Regions from separate parts of the Homo sapiens genome. Here regions 1, 2, 4 and 5 are each linked to region 3. The links are contacts of gene promoters, found by promoter capture Hi-C in blood cells and fetal thymus (Javierre and others, 2016). All regions are on one chromosome and are shown on one strand. The core of a region is centred on a gene start or on the middle of the fragment in contact, and the rest is flanking DNA. Distances in the headings are between cores, read along the strand shown.

Region 1 (2,700 bases), core at 153-2,652, 430 kb after region 3:
AAAAACCATATTGAAGGCCAGGCTGGAGCTGTGGCATCAGGAGGGGTTTTTCAAGGGACGCCCCACGGCATCTCCATGGAAGTGGGAAGTTGAGTCTCATAGTTAACCAAAGGACAGAGAAAGGTGTTCCCGGCAGAGGGAATAGCATAGGCAAAGACTCGGGCAGGAGGGAGCATGGTCCAGTGGAGGCCGAGGTGGGAGGCGAGAGGAGCCGGGGGCTGAAGGGCTCTGGAAAGGCTTCTGGCCTCTGTTGAGAGGGGCCCGCCCTGTGCTAGGGTTTTCAGCAGGAGTGAATGAGCTGCTGTGAGACTGACAGGGCAGGGTGTGCTCCCGGCCTTGGCCCTGAGCCCAGGTTGTCCTGCCTCCAGGTGCGCTCGCTGGAGGCCCACATGTACCCGGAAAAGCTCAAGGTGATTGCGCAGCAGGTGCAGCTGCAGCAGCAGCAGGAACAGGTGAGGCTGCTGCACCAGGAGAAGCTGGAGCGGGAACAGCAGCAGCTGCGGACCCAGGTGAGCAGGAGGCGCCCGGGAGTGGGCTCTGGGGACCGGGAAGGGGACAGGTGATCTTGAATGGCGGAAGCCTCTCCCTAGGCCACGTCCTCTCTGCTTCTTAATATAAAGGGGCAGAGGCAGTTATACATTGGCCAGCTCTGCATGAAAGGGAGGTGGATGGGCCAAGAGAAGCCTTGAGAGAAAGGCTGAGGGCCTCTGTCTTGCAGCTTCTGCCCCCTCCGGCCCCCACCCACCACCCCACGGTGATCGTGCCAGCACCGCCTCCTCCTCCCTCCCACCACATCAATGTCGTCACCATGGGCCCCTCCTCGGTCATCAACTCTGTTTCCACATCCCGGCAAAATCTGGACACCATCGTGCAGGTACCTGAGCTTGAGAAAGGGGCAGCTTGTGGGGGTCATACTCCGGGAACAGGCTCTTTAGGGGAGACTGGAAAAGAGGGGCAGAAGCGGAGGAAGATGGTGCTTGTGTGGGAAGGGGTGGAGGGCTGGAAGCCTTGGGGGGCCCCGTCCCTGGATCTGCAAGTGGAGAATGTGAGGGCCAGAGATCGGGGCAGGGCCTACCACGCCAGTAGGAGGAGTTGGCCAGGAAGACTGTCCCTTCCCTCAATATGGGGTTTCCGGAGAGGGTCCTTTGCTCCCAGAGCCCCCTGGTTACAGAGTTCCTGCATCCAGCTCTTGGGTTGGTCCGGAACATTGTCTCAGCTCCATCTCCTAGGACCTGGATGGAGATACAGGTGGCAGGGCTGGTGATAGTTGGGCCTCCTACAGAGGAGGAAGCTTTGTGGGTCAAGCCTGAAGTTACAGTTGCATTCACCCTTGAACAGGGCCCCTTGAGGAGCCCAAGATCAGAAATCAGTAAATAATAAATAAATAACCAAAAAAGCCAAAACAGGAAAAAAAATCCATCAATCTCCTCGAATTTTAATTGCTCATAAACTTTGCAAATTGTGTAATACAATTAATAACAAACGCCTTTAATAAGTTAATAGGCAAGCTTTAAAATACATAAACATATGGCCGGGTGTGGTGGCTCACACCTGCAATCCCAGCACTTTGGGAGGCCAAAGTGGGTGGATCACTTGAGGTCAGGAGTTCGAGACCAGCCTGGCCAACATGGTGAAAACCCCATCTCTATTAAAAATACAAAAATTAGCCTGACGTGGTGGTGCACGCCTGTAATCCCAGCTATTCGGGAGGCTGAGGCAGGAGAATCGCTTGAACATGGGAGGTGGAAGTTGCAGTGAGCTGAGATTGCACCACTGAACTCCAGCCTGGGTGACACGGTGAGACTCTTTCTCAAAAAACAAACAAACAAAAACATATGAAAGGTCCATATTATTTCTTTTTTTTTCTTTTTTTTTGAGATAGAGTTTCGCTCTTATTGCCCAGGCTGGAGTGCAATGGTGCTATCTCAGCTCATCGCAACCTCCTCCTCCCAGGTTCAAGTGATTCTCCTGCCTCAGCCTCCCAAGTAGCTGGGATTATAGGCATGTGCCACCACGCCTGGCAAATTTTGTATTTTTAGTAGGCTTCTGGCCTCTGTTGAGGGGCTGGTCTCGAACTCCTGACGTCAGGTGATCCTCCCGTCTTGGCCTCCCAAAGTGTTGGGATTACAGGCGTGAGCCACTGCGCCTGGCTGATACATATAATATAATTTCTAAGCAGCACTGGGACTGTCATCTTCCCAGAATGGATTTTTCAACTTAACAGAGGGGTTTTGAAAGTTTGTTCCTGGGTCAGGCGTGGTGGCTTATGCCTGTAATCCCGGGACTTTTGGAGGTTGAGGCAGGAAGATTGCCTGAGGTCAGGAGTTCGAGATCAGCTTGGGCAACATAGCAAGAACCCCCTCGTCTCTACCAAAAATACAGAAGTTAGCTGGGGATGGTGGCGCACCCCTGTGGTTCCAGCTACTAGGGAGGGAGCAGTAGGAGGATCGCTGGAGCCCAGGAGTCTGACTGCAGTAAGCTATGATCATGCCACTGCACTCTAGCCTGGGTGATATAGCGAGAGCTTGTCTCCAAAAAAAAAGTAAAAGGAGTTTGTTTTTCCTGTACTCTAGCGGGCCTCCCCTGCTGCTTTGCCAGGCTTTTTTCTGGGCTATGTGTTTTGGGGGTGACAGTGGCTGGCTGAGAGCCCCCACTGTCTCCTGGCTGGCCATGTATCCCCGGCCGAGCCTTCTCAGTGGT
Region 2 (2,700 bases), core at 150-2,649, 400 kb after region 3:
GTGTGTTTGCATGTGTGTGCGTGGGTGTGCATGAGTGTGTCTGCACGCAGCAGCAGCAGCCCCCTTTCTGTTCTCCTAGGAGTTTTGTATTTGATTTCTCCTCCAGAGTCTTGGGGGCTCCACAGGAGAGATGGTGGAGGCGGGAGGAGCAAGAAAGGGGTGAGGTTAGAAGCCTGGTCCCAGCTGGGGCTGCAGCTGGGGGCCTGCAGGCTCTGGCCTGCCCTGGGAGGCCCTCCCTGTACCTGCAGCTGCATCTGGGGCCGGAGGAGGGGCCAGGCGTCCTTCCGCTCCAGGAGCTGCTGCCTGTCCCCCTCCCATGACACATGAGGACTGTGTCTGGTCGATTCACATTGGAGGGTCCCTGAATGAGCTTTGTCCATTAGAGGACCTGTATTCTTGTTCCTGGAACCTGGGAGTGGGTCAGAAGGGTGACTCACACCTGTAATCCCAGCACTTTGGGAGGCCAAGGTGGGTGGATTACCTGAGGTCAGGAGTTTGAGACCAGCCTGGCCAACATGACGAAACCCCATCTCTACTAAAAATATAAAAATTAGCTTGGCATGGTGGTGCGTGCCTGTAATCCCAACCACTCGGGAGGCTGAGACAGGAGAACTGCTTAAACCTGGGAGGCAGAGGTTGCAGTGAGCCGAAATTGCGCCATTGCACTCCAGCCTGGGTGACAAGAGTGAGACTCTGTCTCAAAAAATAAAAATAGGCCGGGCGCAGTCGCTCACGCCTGTAATCCCAGCACTTTGGGAGGCCGAGGCAGGCAAATCACAAGGTTAGGAGATCGAGAGCATCCTGGCTAACACAGTGAAACCCCATCTCTACTAAAAATACAAAAAATTAGCCAGGTGTGGTGGCGGGCGCCTGTAGTCCCAGCTACTCCAGAGGCTGAGGCAGGAGAATGGCGTGAACCCAGGAGGCAGAGCTTGCAGTGAGCCAAGTTCGCGCCACTGCACTCCAGCCTGGGTGACAGAGAGAGACTCTGTCTAAAATAAATAAATTAGTTAATAATAATAAAAATAAAAAATAAAATCAAGCTGGGAGCAGTGGCTCATGCTTGTAATCCCGGCACTTTGGGAGGCTGAGACCGGCAGATCACCTGAGGTCAGGAGTTCGAGACCAACCTGGCCAACATGGTGAACCCCGTCTCTACTAAAAATACAAAAATTTGGCCGGGCACAGTGGCTCACGCCTGTAATCCTAGCACTTTGGGAGGCCAAGGCGGGCGGATCATGAGTTGAGGAGATCGAGACCATCCTGGCTAACACGGTGAAACCCCAGACCCCATCTCTACTAAAAAAATTAGCCGGGTGTGGTGGTGGGTGCCTGTAGTTTCAGCTACTCGGGAGGCTGAGCCAGGAGAATCGCTTGAACCAGGGAGGTGGAGGTTGCAGTGAGCTGAGATCGCACCACTGTACTCCAGCCTGGGTGACAGAGTGAGACTCCATCTCAAAAAAAGATTAAAAAATAAAAATAAGATATAATTCACATACCGTAAAATTCACCTCTTTGAAGTGTACAATCAGTGGTTTTTAGTGTATTCAGAGTCGTGCAACCATCATCAACATCTAATTTCAGAACATTTTCACCATCCCAAAAAGAAACCCTATACTCAAGAAGCAGCCACTCCCCATTCCTCTTTCCTCCCAGGCCCTGGCAACGCACCAGCCTGTTTTCTGCCTCTATGGATTTCCCTATTCTGGGCATTTCAAATAAAGTGGTGGTCTCTTGTGATTGGCTTTTCACTTAATGTTTCAAGGTTCGTCTATATTGTAGCATAGATCAGCACCTTGTTCCTTTTTATTTTTGAGACACAGTCTCGCTCTGTCGCTCAGGCTGGAGTGCAATGGTGAAATCTCTGCTCATTGCAAGCTCTGCCTCCCAAGTTCAAGCGATACTTGTGCCTCAGCCTCTGGAGTAGCTGGGATTACAGGCGTGGACCACCACGCCCGGCTATTTTTGCTCGTTTTTAGTAGAGATGGAGTTTCGTCATGTTGGCCAGGCTGGTCTTAAACTCCTGACTTCAAGTGATCGGCCCGCCTCAGCCTCCCAAAATGCTGGGATTACAGGGCGGCATGAGCCACCACACCCGGCCTTTATCTGTCTGTCTGTCTGTCTGTCTATCTATCTATCTAATCTATCTATTTTTGAGACAGAGTCTCCCTCTGTCCCCCAGGCTGAAGTGCAATGGCACAATCTCATCTCACTGCAACCTCTGCCTCCTGGGTTCAAGTGATTCTCCTGCCTCAGTCTCCCAACTAGCTAGGATTACGGGCGCCCACCACCACCCCCAGCTGATTTTTGTATTTTGAGTAGAGATGGGGTTTCACCATATTGCCCAGGCTGCTCTCCAACTCCTGGCCTCAAGCAACCCGCCTGCCTTGGCCTCCCAAAGTGCTGTGATTACAGGCATGAGCCACCGTGCCCAGCTTTTTTTTTTTTTTTTTTTTTTGAGACAGAGTCCTGCTCTGTCACCCATTTTGGAGTGCAGTGGCATGATCTCAGCTCACTGCAACCTCCACCTCCCAGGTTCAAACGATTCTTCTGCCTCAGCCTCCCGCGTAGCTGGGACTACAGGCGTGCATCACCACGCCCAGCTAATTTTTGTATTTTTAGTAGAGACAGGGTTTCACCGTATTGGCCGGGCTGGTGTCCGACTCCTGACCTCAGGTGATCCGCTTGCCTTGGCCTCCC
Region 3 (2,700 bases), core at 180-2,679:
GGTGTACAGCGGGACCCGCACGAGGCCCAGCACCTGCGCAGACAGGAGGTAGGGGTTGGGGCCAGGCCTGCCACACAATGGCACCTCCAGCAGGAGGGGCCTGGAAGCTATGAGGCCAGGGTATGAGCAGCCAGCTTTGCCAAGGACTTAATGGGAGACCCACGCAGGGCCTGGCAGAAGCCAGCCAGCTCCCTCGGAGCAGTGCAGCCCCCTCCTCCCCAAGCAAGTGTGGAGGCTGACCCCATGCACTCCCCCCCCTCGTACCCAGGCCACCCCACCCCGGGGTCCGCACCCCATGCTCCCCCCGTCCACCCAACGAAGCCTGAACACCCGCAGTCCAGCCCTTCCAGACCACAAAGTACAAATCCCAAGAGCCTTCACGCCCAACATGAGGTTCCCAAGTTTTACAACCCCCGCTGTGCTCAAGTTTCCCAACTCCCCAAGCAATCCCCGCTCCTCCCCCATCCCTTCCTCCCCACCGATCCCACTCCCCCACTCCCAGGATTGGCAATGGCAGGCAGCAAGGCGGATGTAACACAGCCCTGAGGGAGCCCCAGCGCCGGCCCCCACCCCCGCCCCTCCTTTCCCGGCCTCCCAGCCCCAGACCCCTCTCCCCACCCCATTGCTGGAGACAGCGACACCCGACCCAGCCCGGCCAGGGGACCCTCAGGAGACGTGTTACCCATCGGTGCCTTCCACGGGGCCAGAGCCAAACCCCGGGGCGGGGGGCGGGGCCCGGGCGGCGGCCCCACCTCCAGGCCGTGGTCGCGCGAGTGCACCGCGCTGATCTCCACGGCGTGCAGCTGCTCCAGCGTCAGCTGCCGCGCGTACAGGTGCGCCACGACGCGGTGTGGGCCCTCGGTCAGGTGCGAGCTCAGGTAGTCGGCCTCGGTGAGGCGCAGGCAGCCCAGGCCCAGGCCCAGCACCCGGTTCAGGCCGTCCTCCAGCGACCAGAAGCGCCGGTCCACGAAGCCCCCGGGGAAGCCCAGCAGCCCGTCGAAACGCATCTGCATCTGCAAGGGAGCGCGGGTCACAGCCGCGGGGTCGACGGACGCCCCCGCCCGGGCCCGCCCGCGCCGGCACCCTCGCCCGCGCCCTCGCCCGTCCTCACCAGCACCGAGAAGCGCATGGGGATGCGGCCGAAGAGCTGCCCAGGGTTGGCGGCGTACAGCATGGCGTGGCACGAGTGGCTCCAGCCCGGCCCTAGGCGCATCGCCTCCACCCGGCTGATCTGCTTCAGCTCCGGAACCGCCGCCGTCGACATCTTGGCACTGACCCCGTCCCCGCCGCTGCCACTTAAGAGCATGCGCGAGCCCGCCCCCGCCGTGCCTCGCCAATCCGCGGGCGGCCGCGCCCCCGGGTCCGGTTCCCCCGCCAATCGCCGGCGCGCCCCGGGACCGAGCCCCTCGCAGCGCCGCGGTGCGTCGTCGAGAGGTGCTGCGGGCGGTGTGCAAAGGAGGGCGGTGCGCGTCAGCCGTCACCCAATAGTCGCACACCCTGGGCGGCGGCCCCGCCTCCGACGGGAGAGCCTAGACGACTGGTCGGTGCCGTGGTGGCTCAAGGTTGACATTGTGGGCGACGAACATCTTCCTTGGCGCCCCAAAGCGGACAGCCGAAATTCCCTGCGGTTTCTCCACCCTCGATGGCGCCGATCCCCTTGCGCCCACCCGTTTCTCCCCAGGAGGCCGACCCGGCCCGCATGGCCCCGTCCATCCGCAATGGCACCCTTGGCACGACCACACGAGCCAGAGATGCCCCGGAGCCTTGCTCCGCCAGCGCCACCGGACCCAAGCCCGGAGGGAGATGGCCTTCGCCTGCCATGCACGACAGCTGTCCCGACCTAGCCACCCTGCTGGCAGGCTCGATCCAGGACAGCACGGGGAGCAGGGCTTGGCAGGGCTTGAGTGCCCCAGTCCCCGAGTCCACGCTGGGTCAGGGCGGACGACCGGGAGCTCTGGGGCTCTGTGGACCCAGCTTGCTGGGCAGAAAGTGACTTAAATTCCGGGGCTGGACCTTTCCAGCATCCTCCAAGCCGGGCACCCTGTGCCAGGTACTGTGGGGGGAAGAGGGGTTTCCCCAATTTACGATGAGGAACTTGGAGCTCAGAGAGGGACATAACTTGCCTAAGTACAACTGGCAGTTGATGACAGAGGCAGAATCCCGATTCCACAAGGGCCTGAGGTACTTACCACTTACCTTGTGTTTGTACTGGAGATGTCTCTGGGGCTCAGAAGCATCCGAAACAGCCCAAGGCAGAGCGAGGTGCCCTGAACTCCATGATGGCAAGGCTCACCTCACCAGCAGCAGGGCCCAGGGCCACTTTCCTCCCCACCAGGGGAATGGATTTGCTGAGCACATGAACCCCCCTGCCTGCACTCACAGCATGGGTGCCCAGGGCTGGGGCACAGCCTCGGGAGAGCCGTGCAGTGAGGCCGAGCTCGCTGGCACAGAGAAGGCTGCCTTCAGTGGAGGCAGGCAGGAGAAGAGAGAGGGAGAGGGTGGGCATTGGAAACTCACCTGTTAGGTCCGTGGTGGCCTCAGATGTGGAGAATAAGGACCCAGAGAGGGCACCTCTCTCTCCTCCTGTGGCCACCAGTGGGTCAGGGGTCACATGGGACAGCTGCAAGCAGCAGGGGAAGTCCAGATTCCAGAGTGAGCGACCATGTGAGAAGGCGAGAGGGCAGCGAGGGGAAGGGTCCT
Region 4 (2,700 bases), core at 201-2,700, 350 kb after region 3:
TTATTGAGCACCTGCTGTACCATTAGGCTGTGTGCCAGGCATTTGACAGGCATTATCTCAGCTTTATTGGTGGCCACATTTTACAGGTAAGCAAACTGGGTTGCTCAAAGGAGTTGAGAACGTGTCTATGTCAGATAGCTGGGATTTTTGCACACAGGTGATCCCAAAGCCTGCAGGTGTAACCATTACACTACACTGCGTCTTCTCAGAGATGCCTCCTATAGGAACCTTGCTGGCCTCAATGGGCCGTCCAGTCTGCTGAAACTTTGCAGGCCAGCCCCCCTCTGCCCTGCAGCTCTAGGCAGCTGAAGCCACAGGCCACCACGCCGCTTTGGTTTGAAGTGTGCAGGGGATGGTCGGGGAAGCTCCCCAGTTATGACCTCAGCTCTTACCGTTCATTATTTTGCAACAGTCATTGGCCTTGGCAGAAAAGTAAACAAGTGATTGCAAGGCTGTACGATGGCAGCAGAGGGACCGAAGGCTGTTGGTGTGAGGGGTAGTCTGAGACCTGAGCCGTGTTTCAAGCCGAGGGGACCCTCTGACTTTCACCTCTGTCCTTCAGACAGCACCAGCATCCCATCCCTGAGCCTCCTGTTCCACTCGGGAGGGGCTTTAGGAAGGAGGCGAAGTCAGGTGAGACCGCAGGTGTCATCAGGTGCATCCCTGACCCTCCCTCATCTGCAGTACAGCCACAGCCCTGCCCCTCGCTGTGATCACAGGAGGGTCTTCTCTGGGCTCTTTCTGCTGTGAAATCCAGAAGTTATGAAGTTTCCACCTACTTTTGAAATCTTAACCCACTTGTTTGTTCATTCCCCTAATGGCCCATAATGACATCCCACCTGTTAAGGAAAGAGCAGGTCCTCGGAGGCTGAACAAGGCCAGCTCTGGAGTCGAATCCACTGGAATCTGGAGCAAGCCCCTCTGGCCTCGGGGTTGGGTTCTTGATACTTGTCGGCTTGCCCAGGTGCCCTACCTTCAGACCCCGGGACCCTGCGTAGTGACTGCTGTGACAGATAGCACCAGCCTTGGGTTTCCGATCTGCCTCCGAGGCACCTGCTGTTACGTCCTCGGGCCAGTCAGCAGTCCCCCACCCCTGAGTTGTCAGAATTAAACGGCACAATGAATTGAACGTGTTTGGCACCGTGCCTGGTGTGTGGACTCAGTTGATACTTGTTGACTGAAGGCAAATCTACAGAAAAGCACTAGGAAGAAAGGGAAAGTCACTCGGCTGTGCCACATGAGCTTTCAACCTATGCCGAGCTGCCTCCAGCCCGCGCCACCCCCCTGCGTCTACGGCTTTGCAGTCACAAGATCCTTTGTATGTGCTGTCTATATATAATCGCTTTGTTTCACAAAGATCTGTGCATCTTTCCATGTCATCCGCCAGATTCCCAGTCTTTCCCAGGCCAGCCTAGGCTATTGGCTGCTCGCAGGAACTCCCTTCTGCCTTCTCTCCTGCCAGTTTTGGCTCAACCCAGTCCCTCTGCCTAGAAAGCCCTAGTATTTCCATCATGATTCTTCCTACCCTGCAAAGCCCAGCCCAGGAGGAACCCCCTCCTCTCACGGAACCCCCTCCTCTCACAGAACCCCCTCCTCTCACACAATCCCCTCCTCTCACACAATCCCCTCCTCTCACAGAACCCCCTCCTCTCACGGAACCCCCTCCTCTCACAGAACCCCCTCCTCTCACGGAACCCCCTCCTCTCACGGAACCCCCTTCTCTCACGGAACCCCCTCCTCTCACAGAACCCCCTCCTCTCACGGAACCCCCTCCTCTCACGGAACCCCCTCCTCTCACAGAACCCCCCCTCACACAATCCCCTCCTCTCACGGAACCCCCTCCTCTCACAGAACCCCCTCCTCTCACGGAACCCCCTCCTCTCACACAGTCCCCTTCTCTCACAGAACCCCCTCCTCTCACAGAACCCCCTCCTCTCACAGAACCCCCTCCTCTCACACAGTCCCCTCCTCTCAGAGAACCCCCTCCTGTCACACAGTCCCCTCCTCTCACAGAACCCCCTCCTCTCACACAGAACCCCCTCCTCTCACACAGAACCCCCTCTTCTCACACAGAACCCCCTCCTCTCACGGAACCCCCTCCTCTCACAGAACCCCCTCCTCTCACACAGAACCCCCTCCTCTCACAGAACCCCCTCCTCTCACGGAACCCCCTCCTCTCACGGAACCCCCTCCTCTCACGGAACGCCCTCCTCTCACACAGAACCCCCTCCTCTCACCGAATCCCATCTCAGTCTTGAGTTTTCCCTCGACTCTGTTGCTTCCGCTCACATCTTAGTGAGTCCCCAGGGCCTCTGCGGGGCATGGAATCACACGTGCAGTGTTCCGGCATGTTCAGCCTGGTGTGTGACAGTGGGGTTCCCTGCCAGGCCAGCAGTGTGCTCTGACTCGGGGCAGGGACCAGGTTCTGTGTAGCTTTGTGCTCAAGTGCTGAGCAGAGTAGACTCTCAGCAGATGTTTGAATGAATGGGTGAACCAATGGCTGCACAAATGAACGAGCCTGACTCTCCCTCATGATTTGGTCCATAGTGTGTTTAAATACCCTCCTAGTGGGCTTTTAGCTCCTTGAAGATGGAAACAGGTTTGCATAGTAAGTTTGTTTTATTGAATGGAATGGACTTAAAGTCTTCGGACTTGGGAGAATTAGGACAGATCTGTTTCCCCGTTGGTAAAGTAAAGGTT
Region 5 (2,700 bases), core at 50-2,549, 260 kb before region 3:
TGTTCTACTAATTATTCCTACCACTTGTTGACACTCCATTGGCGCTTACTATACCTAGCACCATTCTAAAGCTTTACAAACACGAATGCATTTAATCCTCAAAGCAACCCCAGAGCAATGAAAATGTCTTGGAATGTGATAGAGGTGGTGGTTGCACAACGTTGCAAATGCACATGCCACTGAATTGGGGCCACAATATTAAAATGATTAATTTTCTGTTACGTGGCTTTCATCTCAATTAAAAGCCCATATACAGTCAAAACTATTTTAATCCTCATCTTACACGTAGGGAAACTAAGGCACAAGGCACAGAGAGACTGAATAACTTGCCCAAGGCCACACAGCTAGTAAGGAACTCATACCCAGGACTCTCGTTCTCCAATGACTTCTTCTCCTAGAGCTGCAGCTGATGCTCCGGGAAGATGTGATTTCCAAGCCCTGAACTGCAAGATCTCCAGGCACCCTGGCTCCAGGACAAGAAGGCGCTGCAAGGATAGGCTGATTCCCCAGGGGTGCTGGGCATGAACTCAGTCCCAGGGCAGGATCTTTAGCCTCTATCTGCTGCTTCCCACCTGCCCTGCAAGAATGACCCAGCCAATGCTGCCTTTTGTGGAGGTGGGTTTTGGGAACCCCAGAAACCACCTCATGTCTCTGAATGTCTTCCCAGCAGATGGGCCACTGCCAGAGAAGATTCAACCATTAGTGATGCATTTGTTTGAGTAAAACTCTGGACCCCATCCAAAGGCAGATGTTCCTGGAAGGCATCCTGCTGGGAATGTCCTGAGTTGAATGGCTCAGTGTGACATTGAGAATGGGGGTTAAGACCCTGGAATACATAATGGGCCCTGGGATGGCTCTGAAGCTGAAGAAGATGCAGTAAGCAGGGTACGGTCCCCAGCTTAATTTTATTGTGGCAAAATGGTCCGAGCACAGTGGCTCATGCCGGTAATCCCAACAGTTTGGGAGGCCGAGGTGGGCGGATCACCTGAGGTCAGGAGTTCGAGACCAGCCTGGACAACATGGCAAAAACCTGTCTCTACTAAAAATGAAAAAATTAGCCAGGCATGGTAGCGCATGCCTGTAATCCCAGCTACTCAGGAGGCTGAGGTAGGAGAATCACTTGAACCTGGGAGGTGGAGGGTGCAGTGAGCTGAGATCACACAACTGCACTCCAGCCTGGGCAACAGAGTGAGACTCCATCTCAAAAAAAAAAAAAAAAAAGAAAAAAATCAGCTGGGCACGATGGCTCATGCCTGTAATCCCAGCACTTTGGGAGACCGAGGTGGGCAGATCACCTGAGGTTGGGAGTTCGAGGCCAGCCTGATCAACATGAACAAACCTCGTCTCTACTAAAAATACAAAATTAGCTGGGTGTGGTGATGCATGCCTGAAATCCCAGCTACTGGGGAGGCTGAGGCAGGAGGATCGCTTGAACCCGGGAGGCAGAGGTTGCGGTGAGTCAAGATCATGCCATTGCACTCCAGCCTGGGCAACAAGAGAGAAACTCCATCTCAAAAAAAAAAAAAGCACATAACACAAAAGTTACCATTTTAACCATTTCTTAGTGTGCTGCATGCCTGTAATCCCAGCTACTCAGGAGGCTGAGGCAGGAGAATTGCTTGAACCCAGCAGGTGGAGGTTGCAGTGAGCCAAGATCATGTCATTGCACTCCAGCCTGGGTGACAGAGCGAGACTCTATCTCAAAAAAAAAAAATGCACATAACACAAAAGTTACCATTTTAACCATTTCTTAGTGTACAATTCTCTGGCTTTTGGTATATTCACAAGATGCACGTACAGCCAGCACCACTTTCTAGTTTTGGAACATTTTCATCACCCCAAAAGGAAACTCATACCCATGAAGCTGTCACTCCTCCTTCCTCCCTTCCCGCAGCCCCTGGAAACCATCCATCTGTTTATCTGCTTCCTGGGGGACATCTCATTCGTCCCGGGTGGCCTCTACGTTGTGTTGCTTCTTGCCCCTTCTCGAAGCAGAGCCCTGAGGCCTCCTGGATTTGGGAATCTCCAGGGCTATCATGATGGTTGGCAGGGCTGTTACGTACAGGTGTATAGGTTGTAACCTGCACAACTCTGTGGAACAGTCCTGGTCATGGGAGCAGCTTTGACTGAGCAGAGGCTGAGTCTGAGGCAGTCTGACCCAGGGGGCTACACAGCCAGGACCCACCCACCTTGACCCCCAGCCGGGCACCCAAGTCCATTCACTTCACAAAGACTTCTGGGCTCCACCAACTGCTACATGAAGCCCAAAGGAGAGAATGGAACACAGCGGGAGGAGGGTGGCCCAGGGGATGGGAGGGGTGGCCCTGTGGGAGGGGTCAGGTGGCCGGGCACTTGGGGCGGGTACAGGAGTCAGACCAACCTTGATGTGCGTTCTGACCCTGCCACCCCCTAGCTTTGTTGCCTCAATGTCCCCTCTTTTTTTTTTTTTTTTTTTTTTGAGACAGAGTCTCACTCTATCGCCCAGGCTGGAGTGCAATGGCGTGATCTCGGCTCATTGCAAGCTTCGCCTCCCAGGTTCATGCCATTCTCCTCCCTCAGCCTCCCGAGTAGCTGGGACTACAGGCGCCCACCACCACGCCCGGCTAATTTTTTTGTATTTTTAGTAGAGACGGGGTTTCACCGTGTTAGCCACCATGGTCTCGATCTCCCGACCTTGTCATCCACCCGCCTCGGCCTCCC

The links. The method cuts DNA at HindIII sites, captures the fragments that hold promoters and counts their contacts. A CHiCAGO score of 5 or more calls a contact.
Region 1: a fragment that was not itself captured here is called in contact with the fragment with the promoter of NUDT16L1 in region 3 in 2 of 17 cell types (naive CD8 T cells and total CD8 T cells); the score reaches 6.0 in naive CD8 T cells.
Region 2: a fragment that was not itself captured here is called in contact with the fragment with the promoter of NUDT16L1 in region 3 in 1 of 17 cell types (neutrophils); the score reaches 5.6 in neutrophils.
Region 4: a fragment that was not itself captured here is called in contact with the fragment with the promoter of NUDT16L1 in region 3 in 1 of 17 cell types (naive CD4 T cells); the score reaches 5.2 in naive CD4 T cells.
Region 5: a fragment that was not itself captured here is called in contact with the fragment with the promoter of NUDT16L1 in region 3 in 7 of 17 cell types (neutrophils, endothelial precursors, M2 macrophages and 4 more); the score reaches 11.6 in neutrophils.

Annotation. Positions count from the first base shown.
Region 1 is chr16:4,258,264-4,260,963 of GRCh38, reverse strand. TFAP4 (transcription factor AP-4) reads left to right here. Exons shown (of 7, transcript NM_003223.3): 5 at 369-509; 6 at 719-874. Among named protein-coding and RNA genes, the nearest start is that of LINC01569, 5.8 kb to the right of the region's middle. The HindIII fragment of the contact is 217 bases long and covers 1,294-1,510 here.
Region 2 is chr16:4,294,736-4,297,435 of GRCh38, reverse strand. No RefSeq gene overlaps it. Among named protein-coding and RNA genes, the nearest start is that of GLIS2, 20 kb to the left of the region's middle. RefSeq lists enhancers at 1-701, 2,341-2,700. The HindIII fragment of the contact is 3,103 bases long and covers 1-2,700 here.
Region 3 is chr16:4,692,291-4,694,990 of GRCh38, reverse strand. It overlaps NUDT16L1 (nudix hydrolase 16 like 1), which reads right to left and starts at 1,429. Exons shown (of 3, transcript NM_032349.4): 1 at 1,112-1,429; 2 at 753-1,013; 3 at 1-33. The coding sequence starts at 1,264. RefSeq lists enhancers at 502-1,009, 1,010-1,517, 1,769-1,858 and silencers at 609-1,108, 1,219-1,578. The HindIII fragment of the contact is 13,448 bases long and covers 1-2,700 here.
Region 4 is chr16:4,343,719-4,346,418 of GRCh38, reverse strand. The region is part of intron 27 of CORO7-PAM16 (CORO7-PAM16 readthrough); the gene reads left to right. All of the region lies in intron 1 of PAM16 (presequence translocase associated motor 16), which reads left to right. Among named protein-coding and RNA genes, the nearest start is that of PAM16, 6.3 kb to the left of the region's middle. RefSeq lists a silencer at 1,285-1,485. The HindIII fragment of the contact is 3,035 bases long and covers 1-2,700 here.
Region 5 is chr16:4,952,939-4,955,638 of GRCh38, reverse strand. No RefSeq gene overlaps it. Among named protein-coding and RNA genes, the nearest start is that of SEC14L5, 4.0 kb to the left of the region's middle. The HindIII fragment of the contact is 2,451 bases long and covers 74-2,524 here.